Regions from separate parts of the Homo sapiens genome. Here all the other regions are linked to region 1. The links are contacts of gene promoters, found by promoter capture Hi-C in human tissues and cell types (Jung and others, 2019). All regions are on one chromosome and are shown on one strand. The core of a region is centred on a gene start or on the middle of the fragment in contact, and the rest is flanking DNA. Distances in the headings are between cores, read along the strand shown. Region 1 holds the start of SV2C (synaptic vesicle glycoprotein 2C). Region 2 overlaps SV2C (synaptic vesicle glycoprotein 2C). Region 3 has its middle 53 kb from the start of SV2C.

Region 1 (3,200 bases), core at 617-3,116:
ATTATTTAACTATTTAAATTATTTAACTATTTAAATAATTATTTTACTAAGAAGAATCCACGAAATGAAAATGAGCACGTTCACTAATTTTCATATTGCCTGACCATCTCATAGCACCATGGTCACAGACTGCAAAGCCTCTCACCGGAACAAGACAGACCAGCAAGGAAGTGTAGGTTCAACAGCACATGAGAATCATAACTTTTAGTGCCAGAGTGTCTGAACCAGAGAGGAGGGAAAATGAGAGGCCAAGAGTTGTCTCCATTTTCTTCTCTTCACAGTATCCTGCATAGTGGCACAAATCGAACTGGAAAGCCCAAGCTAACAACACCGCCCTGGGCGAACCGCCTGTCTCCACCGGCTCCTCTGGGCAGGAGGCTCCAGCCTGGGGGTGCCTGACAGCTCTCCTTCCCCGGCGCCTGTATTATACATGTAACATTTATATTTCTATCCACACAGCGTTCATTCAGCCATCCATTCAATCACCCAGGCATATTTACACGGATGGAACACATTCGCGGAGAGATGTGTGTGTTTGAGTTCCAATCACTGCAGCCCGTATTGGCGCGGCGCTTTGTCTCGCTTTGGGTCACCACCACAGGAGCAACGATTTCGGGGACGGCACACGCCTGTGTGACCGCTTCCCACTCCACTTGGGTTCCGTGAGCGCGCGGAGCCGGAGGAGTCAGGGACGTGAGGATGCCCTACTTCCCGCAGCATCCGGATGGCAGGGTCTGCGTCGGAAGGCCCGGGAGGGCGACGCCCTCCACTGCTGCCGCGGGGTGGGTGCGCCAGGCCTGGGTGTGGCCTCACGGGAGCGAGTTTCTCTCCAGCCGCCTGGCCCACCGCTTTGGAACAGTGAAGCTCGAGTTGGGGTCTCCTGCACGCCAAGGGGAGAAATGTTTGTTTCTGACAACACAAGCAAAATTCTCTCTCCTGCACGCCAAGGGGAGAAATGTTTGTTTCTAACAACACAAGCAAAATTCTCTCTCTCTCTCCCTCTCTCTCTCTCTTCTCTCCTCTCTCTTTCTCCCTCCTCCTCCTTTCTTTCTTTCTCTTTTTCTTTCTTTCTTTCTTTCTTCCTCCTCCTCCTCTCTCTCTCTCTATCTCTCTCTCCACCCCCCCCCCCTCATATTTGGTTGTTTCCCCTCTAAGGGGCCACTTTCAATATCTGCCTGTGAGCCCAGCTGTCTGGCCCTATGTAGCATTGGGGAGACAGTAGACTTAACCCAGCGAAGTTTTCTTCTGTTTGCTCTTGCTGTGCCCAAGTTTCCTCTGGACTTGTCTTCCAGCGTCGGGGTGGGGGCTGGGGGAAGTAGGCAACCTAGCTCTGCCTGGTTGCTCCCTGGAAGCCAAGTCGAAGTGAACAAGTCAGTCCCAGGCCCGGAAATAGAATACAAACCCTCTTTTTGTCCGGTGCTAACAGAGTCCAGCAGTCAGAACTCCCTCGCGTCTCACGCTGGACCTGACCCGGGGCGCCGCCAAGTGCGCAACGCACAGTCACAGTTGGTGACTAATTAAGGACTGCCGCCCCTCTCCTTCACCTGCTACAAACTCAGAGCCCTGACTTCTCCAGAAGTACCTACCACTTGGAGGTGGCTCTCCTTCCCCGCCCCCTGCCCCAGTCCCACACCGCAGCAGCGCCTCAGCACCGCGACTTGCCGGAGCACCGCGAGTGGCGCGCGGGTCCCGCCTCCCCCGCGCGCCGTGACTCCCTGCGCACCGCTGGTACTCTCGCCACGCCGCCGCCCGGCACTGCAGCACCAGGGGGAGGAGGCAGGCGGAGGAGAGGAGGAGGACCGCAGCGTGCAAGCCGGGAGCCACTTTCCCGCCCCTCCTCTCGCCGCTGACACGCTCAGAGGAGTCACCACTCCGCGCGCTGCAGGCGAGAGTGGCAGACGGAGGCAGCCCGGGGAAGCGAGCCGGAGCGGCGCCCGCACTGAGGCGGCTGCAGTGCTGACACCACTCAGGGCAAGGGTGTCCGACGGCTGGAGCGGTGAGTGGGGGAGGTGAAGCGGGCATCCGCGGGGAGACTTTCCCCCGCTGCTGGATTTCTCTTCCCGACTGGTGGCCGGGCGCTGCAGCCTGGGGAAGTTTTTGCAGCCTTTCGGAAGCGCAACTTTGCCCCGCCTGCCCCCGGGGAAGCGGCTGCAGGTGCCCGCTGCTTTGTAGGCGCCTTTGTTGGAGAGGGACCAGGAAAGTAGGGGTAAAATAGATGCAGTGACCCCAGGGTTCGCTAGGGTAGGTCTGGGGACTGGGTCGCACTTTATCTGGGATTCCCAGAGGAGGTGGGTGGGCAGCAGCGGGGATGCAGGGGCCGCATCTGCAGCGACCGCCACGCTCTTTTTTGCTTGTGTGGTTTGACCGGCAGGGATAGGCAGATTCAAATCTAGCAGCCTAGAGCCCCGGGCTGGGTACCTGGACCTATACCTTCATAGCTGCCTTAGGCTCAACTTTTCGGCGGGGATCCCTCTGCAGACGTGCAGGTGGCGGGAGAGCAGAGGTAGCCGCAGTAAGTGCTGAGAGAGCCTGAAAGAAACACCATGAATTTTCAAACTCTCCCACATACATTCCCGAAGCGCCTGTCTGGCGTCTAAGAGAGAGCAAGAGAGGGCTGGAGAGCAGGGGAGCCCGCGGGGCTGAGGCTCTTTGTCAGCGCCTGCACTTCCTACGTTACAACGCCTTCATTCAGCAAAAACCTTTTGGGCGCCTGCTGTGCGCCAGGCCAGGCGAAGCAGACCCGAGGCTGTGAAGCTCAGAGGGGAGAGGGACCAATCGCAGTAAATAAGCTACCGAGGTAATCTTAGATGGCGATGAGGGCAGCAAAAGCCATCAGCCGACCCTCTGACCCTTTCTCTTAGTGGGCTTTTCCCCTTCCGCCTGGGTTCTAGAACTGGGAAGACTTTTCTCCAGAGCGTCGCGGGGAGCGCCCCGGGCTGGGCCCACGGGGACTGCGGAATACGGGGATGAACTTGGCTTGGGGCAGCCAGCACCCCACGGCAGATGAACAATCGGGAGCAGATCTGTGGGCGTGCGGGGACCTTAGGCGGCGCGCGGGGGCGGGGGGAGGGGCTGAGCCACGGGGGCTAGAGGTGCCGCCTGGACGGCCTGAGCTGGGGGCGCTCGCGTCACCTTCTACGTGTGCGAGTGATGCAAATGCAGACCCGCGAGGGGCGGGCGGGGGTGGCGGGCGGGGGCAG
Region 2 (3,039 bases), core at 80-2,579, 43 kb after region 1:
TTCAGTTTTTGATACACTTGAAAGAAATACTGTATTTTATTTTAGAAATATTATTTTAATGTAGATTTTCTGCCTTTTATCCTGCTTCTTTCAATTAATTCTAATTAGTGTTATGGTATTTTATAATAGAGACATTAGAATTTAAAGGATTTTAGTGTTCATCTTAATACAGTATTTCCATAAAATGTATAATGAGAACTGCTCACTGGTGTCATGCTGAGGGTGGGGAATTCTGTTATTAGGAAAGTTTGGAAATGATTGGGTAACAAATTTAAGCAAGGTTCCTTATAACAGGCTTTGTACTGTAACCCTCCTACTCATACTCCACATGAAGTAAGTGTGAGAGCATATAAAGTCATATAAAGTCAGAGTACTTTATAGGACCACAAGGTGCAGATTGCACCTTGGGGGACTACTGATCCAGACAACTGCCTGATAAAGAAAGTGGAGGAACTAAGAGTTGACCCCTTATGGTGCTTGAGTCCTCATTTAATAACATTAAGGCCAGGTGCAGTGGCTCACACCTGTAATCCCAGCACTTTGGGAGGCTGAGGTAGGAGGACTGCTTGAGCACAGAAGTTCTAGACCAGCCTTGGAAACATAAAAAGACTTCATCTCTACAAAAAATAAAATGTTAGCCTGGCATGGTGGTGCACACCTGTAGTCCCAGCTACTTGGGAGGCTGAGGTGGGAGGGTCGCTTGAGCTTGGGAAGCTGAGGCTGCAGTGAGTCATGATCATGCCACTGCTGCCTGGGTGGGAGAGTGAGGCCCTGTCTCAAAAAACAAACAAAAAACCCAATAACATTACTTTATGGTGTTCCTTTTTACTAGTTTCCTGTTTTCAGGAAAGTTACACTGTAATAGGGAAGGCCATCACATGTATTGGTGAGCATAATGGAAAATGTGATTGAATGCCAGGAGGAAACCAGCTACACTTAACTTGCAAGATGTGATTAGGCTAAGCAATAAAGAAAGGAAATCGTTTCATGAAAGAAGTGATTTTTGAACCGTGATTTTTGCACTGCACCTTAAAGAATGAGAATGTAGGCATACAGGTAGTTTACAGGGTTGGAGGGCAAGAGGTGTCTCTAAATAATAAACACTTAATGTCAGGGATTTGGACAGGCTGGGATGATGGGTCAGTTTCCATTTCTTCATCTCAAAGATGTGCTCAGTGCGGAAAGCTTCTTGGAAAGCTCCCCTCTCAACCCCACCCCACTCCAGAAGGAGTCCTTTGTAGCCCAGCATGCCTGACTTGGGAGGGAGGTGTGGCATCAGGGATAAAGTTGGACACAGTTGTCCAGTCAGCTGGCAGGTAGTTCACCATTTGTCTTCTGTGTTGAATGTCTCTTCTAGATCCAAGCTTAAGAGAGGAAGAGGGATGTTATGAGCCCCTCTGCCCAATCCCAGCACACTACATATCTGCAAGTACTTTAGAAGAGCCCGAGTCTGCTGGCATGGGGGCTGCCTTCTACACACCCATGCTGTTTCAGATCCCTGTTTCCATCACAGGCTCCCATTTCCACAAAAACGTGGCAGATGTAGTGGGTATGTGGTTGGGCTCTGGAGTAGCATTGCATAGGGTCGCATTGTTACTGGCCAGGTTTCAGTTTTCTTATCTGTGAAGTGGGCATTTTTAAAAGTACCTACCCCATACAATGTTTGTGAGCATTATTGTGTGATAATGCATCTGAAGTGCGTGGCACATGGCTGACATAATAACGGATTAGCCATTATTATTGCTATCATTACTCTATCAGGGCACAATGGTTTTAAAGCTGCATAAATACAATTGTTAGAAGAATGGACTCTCCCAGCATCCAGAAGATTCTAGAACATTTGGGGGAGGCGGAGCTATCCAAGATCTTTTGATTGATGGTGGTGATGAGGAGTAAAGCAAAGGGAAGACTGCATGTTTGGGCGGTGTGGGGAAACACCAAGAGAAACATCTGTGTGTTGGGGGTTGTGTAGGGTGGGAGCTTGTGTAGGAAAGTTTTAAAATAGTATGTAGTGGTATTGGATATGTGTGTTTGTCATGAACCATCAAAGGAGCAAAAAGAAGAAAAACTGTGTTTTGCCAGAATAATGCCCGTGTGTATAATTATTCTTTATATTTTACATATTTGTGCAAAATATCACACACAATGATTGTGCATGTCATTGACTATATCAGATTCACTTCGCTGTGAACGTTGTTTGGTTTAACAGCCGCTTCTATAAATGCAGTTTCAATCGGCTATGTATCCTGCAGCTTAGCATGATGAGTAGGGCATCTAAACAAATATTTATCAAGTGGTTTTACAGGAGATACTGCTAATGCCCTGGGTCCCTGGACCCCTTTCATCATCTCTGTGCTCTCCCCACTTGGCTTCAGTGTGCCTTTGCCTTCCTCGGCCAGCACCTTCAGAGGATTGCCTTCAGGCTAGTGGAACTGCCTTGCCTTTTGGTGCGGAGAACAGGAAGCTCCTACATTCCACCATTGCCCCCAGGACCCCTCAGCCAACAGTTGGCATGGGGTTATGAAAGCCTAGCACCTTTGCCCGAGTGGGGAAAAATTCCGAGGCATAATTTATACTCCAGAGTTCCTCCTGAAGCTTGCTCCACGGTAGAATACCTAAAATTGCCGCCCTGCTTCCATCGCTCCCTCCCGCCCTGCTCCCTGACTCCCTTACTCTTTAATAAATGATTTGCAGCTGACTCCTTATGGCTAGGTCTGTTCCTGGGGAAACTGAATTGAAACCACTGAATATATGTCAGATTCTGTCCTAAAACCGGGGTAAACAACTCATTTAATTCTCACAACACTGGAAGGTGGTTATTATTACCCTTATTTCGTGGAGAAGGAAACTGACTTGAGTAAACGAGGAGCATCATGTACTTAGAGATTGTTAGAGTTTCATTGCTTTGCCTACTTTCCTGCCGTCCTGGCCCACTGATGTCTTATTTAACAGGGTTACATTATCTTTTGAAGTACAGCCACCATCCTAGGGTAGTTTATTGGAACAAACAAGACCACATTTTAAAATTATTACCCATAT
Region 3 (3,240 bases), core at 23-2,522, 53 kb before region 1:
ACTACCTCACACAGTTATTTTTCTGGTGAGAACACCAAACATCTATCCTCTTACAATTTTCAAAAATACAATACATTGTTGTTAACTATAGTCACCATGTCATACAATAGATCTCTTGAATATATTCCTTCTACCTAACTGAAAATGTTGTGTTCTTTGACCATCTCCCCAACCCCCTAACCTCTCTGTTCTTAATGATCAGTAGAGTTTTCGTTAAAACACAGATTCTCAATCCCACTCCCAGAGAGTCATTGAATAGACATGAGGTGGGATACAGTCATCTGCATTTTAACAAACACCACAGTGATTCCTCAACCAAAATCTGAGAAAGCCCTACAGTACTAAGAAGTATTTGAGGCAAAAATTCAGACTACAGTACTAAATCAGACTACAGTACTAAGAAGTATTTGAGGCAAAAATTTACACTTATTATTTTTACACTTATTAGAAAGTCTCTAGCCATTTTTATCCACCCTATTCAGCCAGCATGTGTAATTTCAGGGACAAGTAAACAAATATTTGGCTCTTCTACAGATCCAAGAATTTGCTTTAAAAACATTCAGCTTAACCTGCAACTGTCCATTACAATACCATTTACCGTGGCGATGTTTACTTTGGAATAAAAATCAGCAGAATGTCAGCTTGGACCTCAGTCTGGCATCTTTTAGTAAGAGCTCTGGGTACAGCCATTGACCAGATTCTGTAATCAGAGCAAGTTCTTGAAGTAGGTTCTGTCTCTGCTTCAGTTCCTCTTTTCAGAACTTATTGAATGGAGCCTTTCGATTTCAGAGGCAGATTTCGATCCAGGTGACTGCAGACCCCGGTTTCTATGGTGGGTACTTCATAGCATTGAAGGGTCAGGGAAACCACTTTAAATAGAAGGATTTTAATGATTACCTATTTATTTTTTTAAATTCCAGTAAATTCTGAGTAACTAACAAAGGCTTTATTTCTTAATATATGCCACTGTCAAGGGACTCCTTGACAAAATGTGTAAATATTTACACATTTTGGTTTGGTTTAATAATTTTCCTACAAGACAGAATGCTTTGGTCAGAGGCTTGTTTTTTTTTTTTTTTTTTTTTTTTTTATTTATTCCTGTAAAGTTCTTTTTGGAAAAGTTTCCATCTCATTTGTGTAGGGAATAAGAATTATTTGCCCACACATCCAGAAATCTTTTGGAGAAGAAAGGGCGTATTGAGCACTTCACAGACTCACTGGTCACAGAATATTCTAAAAGTAACAGATCAAGGATTCACAGAGTTAGATGCCATCTGGGAACTATTACCCTAGCAATGAAAGGGACCTATAGAAGTAAGTAATGCTGATTTGCTCTAATAGTGACGTCATCTGTATTAAGAAAAGATGTGTTCATGATATGTATATGGTTTGGAGCTATCACTTTGCACAATTGTAAGAAGCACCATCCATGTGGTTGGCAGCCGTATTCTGTCTCTCTCAGGGCAGTCTAGCTTAGAAATGTGCCTCCCCGGAGGCTGCAGTGAGCTGAGATCGTGCCACTGCACTCCAGCCTGGGCAACAGAGTGGGACTCTGTCTCAAAAAAAAAAGAAAGAAAAAGAAAAAAAAGAAAAAAGAAAGGTTTGTGCCTCCCTCTGGAGTGGAGAGTAGCCACTGAATATTTTGCTGGCTACAATCTGGGGCCTCTCCAGGGGTGATATTCAAAATACCTAACAATAGTTAATAATAAGTATGATAATATAAATTAATACATAAATCAAATATTTCAACAATTTTTTTCTGTTCTCGAAATCAACTAAACAATAGAGCATACAATGGATTACCAAGCAATATAAATGGTGCAAAATATTCATCAGCATATCATGATATTTTTGAAAAGATGTGATGAATTTTAAATATTGCAGGTATGATCTTTTGTTTGATCTAACTGTCACAGATGAAATAATGCCTCCAAGTCACAGTTTGGTGAAGGGATTGCATCAGACTCTCCCACAACTTCCCTACCAAACTGATCATCATTTGGTCCCTGGCTTCTGACTCTCATTACAGCCAGTGTCAGTGGGCATGTTGCCTGCTCATCACAGCCAGCTACACACCTGATGCCAGTGCTTTCCACATGATATGCACTCAGAGGGTCTGTATCCCAGACCCTGCCAATAATGGCATCCACTGCCCATATCACCAATCCCTCTGACTGGGCTGTCACACGGCAATGCTGGCTGTCGCTGGAGCAGTAGGCAAGACCTACACACCCCTTCTTGCTGCTGTTACCTTGATCCACTCGGTGCCTGCCAGGGGCTGCTCCCAGGCCCAGTTACCTGACTCTGCAGTTGGGCAGCATCATCAAGTGGCTTGTAGGTTCAGTAACTAAGAAATTGCACTTCCTGATGGAGGTGCTTAACCCTCTCAAACCCTCTATTGATCAAATAGCAATTACATTAAGGATTATCTTGCCCATAAAAGACTGCCTGAGACCTTAATATATTCAATATCTTTATTATTACCTAGGTCACAATGTAACAGGAGGCCCATTTATTAAAGGACAGAGTGATACTCTAATACCATCAGCTTGAATTAATTAGTTGACATTAGAAATTATGTTATTAAGAATATTTCTGCTATCGCTATATTATTTACAACTGGCACAGAATTGATTTAAGAGTTTAGCAACTTGTCCAGGGACTTTCCGAAATATTTGGTTTTCAGCTTTCCAAAAGCTTACTGGCTGCCTTGAGTTCCCTGAGGTAATATATGGATTCCATTCTCATAGCCCAGCCTGAGTAAGATGGAAAGGTAGTTTAGTCATTAGTTCATAAGACCCAAAGCAAACCTACTAAAATGGGAAGACTCTACATATATTTGTTTCTATTTTTGAAAGGAGCCTTTTAAAATCTTTCCTTTTGAATGAGATGGAGTATAAGCACAGATTATTAAGTGATAACTAATGAATATTCAAAGAACAGAGTTACTTTATTGTTATTGATTAACTGATACATGCAAGAAAATAATATGATTTCTCTAGGGACAGTGACCATATCTTCTTTTTTTTTTCCTGTGATAAATAATCTTTTTTTATTATTATTATACTTTAAGTTTTAGGGTACATGTGCACAATGTGCAGTTAGTTACATGTATACCTGTGCCATGCTGGTGCGCTGCACCCACTAACTCGGCATCTAGCATTAGGTATATCTCCCAATGCTATCCCGCCCCTCTCCCCCGACCCCACAACAGTTCCCAGAGTGTGATGTTCCCCTTCC

Evidence for each region. The method cuts DNA at HindIII sites, captures the fragments that hold promoters and counts their contacts. A contact is called where the count stands out against the background at its distance.
Region 2: a fragment that was not itself captured here is called in contact with the fragment with the promoter of SV2C in region 1 in 3 of the 25 tissues and cell types used here (adrenal gland, dorsolateral prefrontal cortex and stomach).
Region 3: a fragment that was not itself captured here is called in contact with the fragment with the promoter of SV2C in region 1 in 1 of the 25 tissues and cell types used here (small bowel).

The regions. Positions count from the first base shown.
Region 1 is chr5:76,081,517-76,084,716 of GRCh38, forward strand. It overlaps SV2C (synaptic vesicle glycoprotein 2C), which reads left to right and starts at 1,867. Exons shown (of 13, transcript NM_014979.4): 1 at 1,867-1,996. SV2C-AS1 (SV2C antisense RNA 1) reads right to left here and starts at 1,901. Exons shown (of 2, transcript NR_183290.1): 1 at 1,403-1,901; 2 at 1-880. RefSeq lists an enhancer at 678-1,231. The HindIII fragment of the contact is 16,764 bases long and covers 1-3,200 here.
Region 2 is chr5:76,125,274-76,128,312 of GRCh38, forward strand. The region is part of intron 1 of SV2C (synaptic vesicle glycoprotein 2C); the gene reads left to right. Among named protein-coding and RNA genes, the nearest start is that of SV2C-AS1, 43 kb to the left of the region's middle. The HindIII fragment of the contact is 3,228 bases long and covers 1-2,943 here.
Region 3 is chr5:76,029,203-76,032,442 of GRCh38, forward strand. It overlaps a transcript of SV2C not described here. Among named protein-coding and RNA genes, the nearest start is that of SV2C, 53 kb to the right of the region's middle. The HindIII fragment of the contact is 5,569 bases long and covers 1-3,240 here.